2 separate regions of the Homo sapiens genome follow, and region 2 is linked to region 1. Evidence: promoter capture Hi-C in 16 types of primary human blood cells and fetal thymus (Javierre and others, 2016). All regions are on one chromosome and are shown on one strand. Each heading gives the region's core, a stretch centred on a gene start or on the middle of the fragment in contact. The rest is flanking DNA. Distances are from core to core; before and after follow the strand shown. Region 1 holds the start of PLCD3 (phospholipase C delta 3). Region 2 holds the start of ARHGAP27 (Rho GTPase activating protein 27).

The links. Contacts are between HindIII fragments. The CHiCAGO score rates a contact against its expected background, and 5 or more counts as called.
Region 2: the fragment with the promoter of ARHGAP27 here is called in contact with the fragment with the promoter of PLCD3 in region 1 in 1 of 17 cell types (neutrophils); the score reaches 5.3 in neutrophils.

Annotation. Positions count from the first base shown.
Region 1 is chr17:45,131,150-45,133,849 of GRCh38, forward strand. It overlaps PLCD3 (phospholipase C delta 3), which reads right to left and starts at 1,366. Exons shown (of 15, transcript NM_133373.5): 1 at 1,099-1,366. The coding sequence starts at 1,261. It also overlaps a transcript of ACBD4 not described here. RefSeq lists silencers at 1,170-1,299, 1,400-1,619 and an enhancer at 2,090-2,159. The HindIII fragment of the contact is 26,016 bases long and covers 1-2,700 here.
Region 2 is chr17:45,431,602-45,434,301 of GRCh38, forward strand. ARHGAP27 (Rho GTPase activating protein 27) reads right to left here and starts at 1,269. Exons shown (of 20, transcript NM_001282290.2): 1 at 1,151-1,269; 2 at 615-748; 3 at 20-151. It also overlaps a transcript of PLEKHM1 not described here. The HindIII fragment of the contact is 25,899 bases long and covers 1-2,700 here.

The sequences.
Region 1 (2,700 bases), core at 116-2,615:
CCAGGCACAGCGCCCAGACATAGTCAGCGCTCAGGTGGAATGAGTCGAGGTAACAAGAAGGCAAAACTGGCAATCAGGACCCCTGAATTCTGCCCCAAGTTCTACACGGGGTCCCTGGCAGCCTTGTCCTTCTGTTCCGGAGTTCCACACCTAGCCTCTCCATCACTGACTATTCTACCAATGGCAGGTCCAACGCAGCACTTCAGTGGCGCGGTCCTTTCCACGTCAGACAACATTCTCGCACACACCCTCTCATTCAAGCCCTCCACTGCCCTGCGGGTCCCACTTTTCCCAGACTCTGAGAGGGTACCAGGGCCCATGTGGTGGGGCACCACCGGGGTGCCAGTCACACTTTGCCCTTTGTTGGCTGTGTGGTCATAGGCAAATTCCTTGCCGTCTCTGAGTCAGTTTCCTCACTTGTGAAATGAGGATTCACCTCCCACCTAGGAAGTCGAGGAAGATTGCAAGACACCACCTGTGTAACCCACCCAGTGCCAGCTGCCTCTGTGATGTTCCAATGAGCCACAGTTACATTCCTTCTCCACGACTGACTTCCCCAAATCTGAGGTGAGAGCCTTGGCTGTCGGACGTAGGCTGTTAGACCAGTCCTGCCAGAGCAGTGTGGCTGTGGCCGCCTCTGTGGGGCCGCGGCTTGGAGGGCTGCTGTGGAGGCCAGCCTCTTCTGCGGAGGCCGACCGCAAACTCGCATCCTTCCTAAGGGCTGCCAAGACCCCGAGACACCCTGGCAGAACCTAGATACTGCTGGGGAGCCGGACGAGGGACACCCCAAGCCTCCCTCTCCCGCTCCATTCTCCTTGGAGACCCCACCAGCGCCCCGTGCCCGAATTCGCGCTTCAGACGCCCCGCGAGCGCCCCCTGGTGGGAAGCAAAGAACACCCTGGGCGCCCGGCTCGCCCCGGGACCCTCGGATGACCCCAGGTGCGACCCCCAGCTGGAGGGAGCTGGCCCTCCGCCCCTAGCCATAGCCTCCCAGCCCCGTGCAGCCTGGGGAATCCACGAACTGCTCCCTGGAGCGCCCCAGACTGGGCCTCTGGGAACGGTCCGCGCCCACCCCACCGCCCCTTGCCCGTCACTGACCCATCTTCTTCAGCGCCCGCAGCCCGGGCCTCTTGGTGCCGCCATCGGAGGGAGTCGGCGGGGACGGGAGAGCGACCGGCGCCGCGACTTGGGCTGCGACCTGGGCGGCCACCGGGGGCTCCTCGGGCGGGCGGCGGCAACGCCTCCAGCGGCCGCACAGCATGGCTTGGCGGGGGGCCGGGGCCGGGCCCGGGGTCTGCACGCGGGGACAGGGCAGCGGGGCGCCGCTCTGGCCCGGCCCCGGCTCTGAGCGAGGCGGCGAGCGAAGAAACTTAGCGGCGCGGGAGGGAGTCGGAGGAGGCAGCAGGAGGTGGGGCGGGGCGGGGCGGGAAGGGAAGGGGGCGGGGCCGGGGCGGTGCGAGGGCGGGGCCAGGCGGTGGCCTGGAAGCCCGGAGCCTCAGCGCTCGCCCCTGCTCGTGAGTCCGTCTCCCCTTAGTCCGGGCGAGCCTCTGATCTTGGCCGCAAGGGTGACTAGAGCCCCCATGCTGCGGGGCTGGGGGTGGGAGCCGGCACCGGGGACGAGGGCCATCCTCTGGCACAGACACCCTCTCCTTCCCGGGGGCCCTGACTCGAGGCTGACGCAGGACCCCCTCCTCCTTCCCTTCCGCGTCCCCGTCGCGCCGCAGGCCTCAGCAGGGAACCAGAGCCGGGACAGGACGCAGGGCCGGGAGCGAAGGCAGAACCCCGGGAGCTGAGCCGCTCGGGGCAGCGCGAACCCGAAGGGATGGGCATGGGGGTGGGGAGGTTGGCAGTGACGTCATAGGATTAACCTCCCTGTGCCAGGCCAGGTGCTGCCCCCTCGGAGAGCCACAGTCTCGGAGCTGACGGACCTGGGGAGCGTGAGGCGGAGCCGAGCCTGGAGTCCCCAGCAACTGGTTCTGGGTTCGAGGCTTGGACAGGCCGGCACCCCAGCCCGGCACCCGCGGTGTAGTTGTCCGCGACGTCAACCCGTGGGTGGGCATCCGTGTGCAGGTTCTGGTGGCCGAGTCGGGTGTGCACTTACTATTTATATGCAAGCACCAGAGTGCGTGCGCGAAGTGGGGGACGTCCAGGTGGCAGCGTTTCTGCGGCCGGTGGCCTGGGTCCGGCAGAGACATGGGCGCACACCGCCACTTTGCGGCGGCCAGCGGCGTGGCATCCTACAGAGAGGCTAGTGCTCAGGGCCTGATTTGCCACCTACTTGCCCTGCTCTACCCCATCCTCAGATCTCCCAGGCCCAGAGATTCTGCACACTGGCTTGGGTCCCTACGCCACTCTGGGGTCCTGAATTTTCTTTTTTTTTTTTTTTTTTTTTTTTTTTTTGAGACGGAGTCTCGCTCCGTCGCCCAGGCTGGAGTGCAGTGGCGGGATCTCGGCTCACTGCAAGCTCCGCCTCCCGGGTTCACGCCATTCTCCTGCCTCAGCCTCCCAAGTAGCTGGGACTACAGGCGCCCGCCACTACGCCCGGCTAATTTTTTGTATTTTTAGTAGAGACGGGGTTTCACCGTTTTAGCCGGGATGGTCTCGATCTCCTGACCTCGTGATCCGCCCGCCTCGGCCTCCCAAAGTGCTGGGATTACAGGCGTGAGCCACCGCGCCCGGCCCTGAATTTTCTTCTTGATT
Region 2 (2,700 bases), core at 19-2,518, 300 kb after region 1:
GACCCCGCAGCGCACTCACGTCGGCTGGGCGGGCCTCAGGGAGCCCATGGGCTGGGTGGGCGGAGCCGGCGGTGGCTGCAGGTTAGGCCCCTACCATCGCCCTGGGCGGGGTTTCCAGGGGCGAGGCCGGAGAGGCTGCGCGGAACAGGAGCTGGCAAGCAGAGCGAAGAGGGACAGGGACGCTCAGGAGTGCTGTCACCGATACCCAAAGCAGCCGTGTCTGGGTGGGGCGAGGAGGAGCCTGAATGCCTCTGCTGGGGACCTTGGGGGGCATTGGGACGAGGCCCAGAGCAGAAGGCCGGCACCTGGAGCCGGGACTGCTGCGTCTGAAGGGGCACTGGCAGGTCGCGAGCGGAGCCCAAGGAGGATGGGACCGCCCCCGCTCCGCCTTCCCCCTCTATTCCCCGCCCCCCCACCCCCCACCCCCCGGGATTTGCTGTCCGGGAGTGCCTGCGTCCCTCCTGTGCGCGGCTCTGGGAATGCCGGGCTGGGGCTGGTTGTCTCGTGCGGGCGTTCCTGTTCCCGGGGAGGTCATTTGCACCCTGAATCACCCACTGCGAGCCCTTCCAACCGGATTGCAAATCCGCCCGCTCCGGGCCCACCTCTTCCCTCACCAGGGCCTTTCCCGGAGCAGCCCGGCCGGGCCTGGAAAAACTCCGAGCGGGATTCCCAGCGCAGGGACGCCCACCGGAGCTCGATGTCTCGGGCTGGATAAGAAGGGGACCGGACCTCGGTTCCTTCCCCGACCCTGGGGAAACGCAGAGAAGGGGAGGGATTGGGGAAGCCGGGAGGATCCCTGGAGCGCGACAGCGCACCAGTCGCCAGGAGGTCCCCTGCGTCCACTGCCCAGGCGACTCAAGCTACAGGGGCGTCAACGCCTGGGTCGGCGCTGGGGGCCTGGGCCTGCTTCCCTCCAGCCCCCAGATGGAGGGCAGCCCTTCGCCTACCTTCTCCTCCCCGTGGGATGCGGCCCGCGCAGCTCCCGCCCCAGCGCGGAGACAAGGGGAGCAGGCGCGCGGAGCTCCCGGGTGCGGACCCGCCACCTGCCGCACCCTTCCCTTCCCAACCCTGCCCTTTCCCCACCCCCACCCCACTTCCCACCCCCAACCCCCGCTCGGCGCCCCACTCCCGACCCTGCCTGCCCGGGCACCTCGGGGCGTCCGCTCGCCGGCTTCGCCTCCACTTGCCCCGGCAGGCGCGCGTGGGCTCGGCGTCCCGCGCTCCCTCCTCGACTGTGCGGCTCCCGCGCTGCCGGGTTTCCTGTTCAACAATATAACCAGGGAGGCACCGGCGGAGAGCGCCGGGCAGAACTTCCTCCCGGACTGGGGCTGGGCTGCGGTTGCGAGAGACAATCCCCGGTGTCCTGGCTTCCTGTCCCCTCTGGGCCGGGCCAGCGCCTGAGGAGCGAAGACGCCACCCCCTCCCCTGCCTTTCCCGGGATCCTGGGCCGCACCTGGCTGTCTCCAGGGAGAAAGAGGCTGCGGGGCTGAGATGGTGGGACTGGGGAGGGCGGGAGCCTCCCCCGCAGGTTCGCCTGGCCAGATTGCCCTCCCACCATCCCCCACCCCCTCTTGATCCTTGTGGGGAAGGAGGGCCACCCTCCAATCCGTCCACAGGGTAAGCTCAGAACAACCTCCAGGAGTCCAGCCCCAGGGCCCTCCGCCTTGGGGGTCTTCTGTTGGAGAATTTTCTGCCTCTCTGGACAAGCAGCCTCGCCCTGATCTGAGCCTGCACTCACTCCAGACATTACAAGCCACAGCCCCAGCACACCCCCTGCCCTCAGGGGCCCCAAGGAACAGTTGTGCCTGTGGACCTGGCTGTGTGTGCCAAGAGCTGGCTGATTCAGGCCAGTGTTCTGGGAGGAAGAAGGGCCCGCATCCCAGGCCATGGCCTCTCTTGACACCACCTCCTGGGGACCCAGGGTTGGGTGGGAAGCTGAATCTGGCCACCCAGATTCAGAGGAACTCCCTTACCTCTATATCTTTGTAAGATATAGTAAGTAAGGAACTCCCTTACCTCTATATCTTTGTAAGATATAGTAAGTAAGGAACTCCCTTACCTCTATATCTTTGCCTCTGCTAGGCATTGCCCACCTGTGAGTCCACACTTCCTCTGAGAATCTGTGTGTCTGAGCCTTGGTGGCACCTTGGGACCCTCCAGGGTGGGCACACAGCAGAACTCAGCACTGGTCTTTGGTGCCCGACATGCTTAGAAAATAGTGGCTGGTGCCGGGCACGGTGGCTCACGCCTATAATCCCAGCACTTTGGGAGGCCGAGGCGGGCGGATCATGAGGTCAGGAGATTGAGAAACCCTGGCTAACACGGTGAAACCCCGGCTAACACGGTGAAACCCCGTCTCTACTAAAAATATAAAACATTAGCCGGGCGTGGTGGCGGGAGCCTGTAGTCCCAGCTACTCCGGAGGCTGAGGCAGGAGAATGGTGTGAACCTGGGAGGCGGAGACTGCCGTGAGCCATGATCGTGCCACTGCACTTCAGCCTGGGCGACAGAGCAAGACTCCGTCTCAAAAAACAACAACCAAAAAAGAAAAAAAGAAAATCGTGGCTGGAGGAATCTTCTCTCCCTCCCTACCTTTTAGGTCCCTCTCCACCTGCAGCACAGCCAGGCAGTGGCTGGCAGTGGTGATGGTCTTTGCGTGGGGTCAGGCAGGTATGATGCCCCACTCTGCTGCTTGGCGGC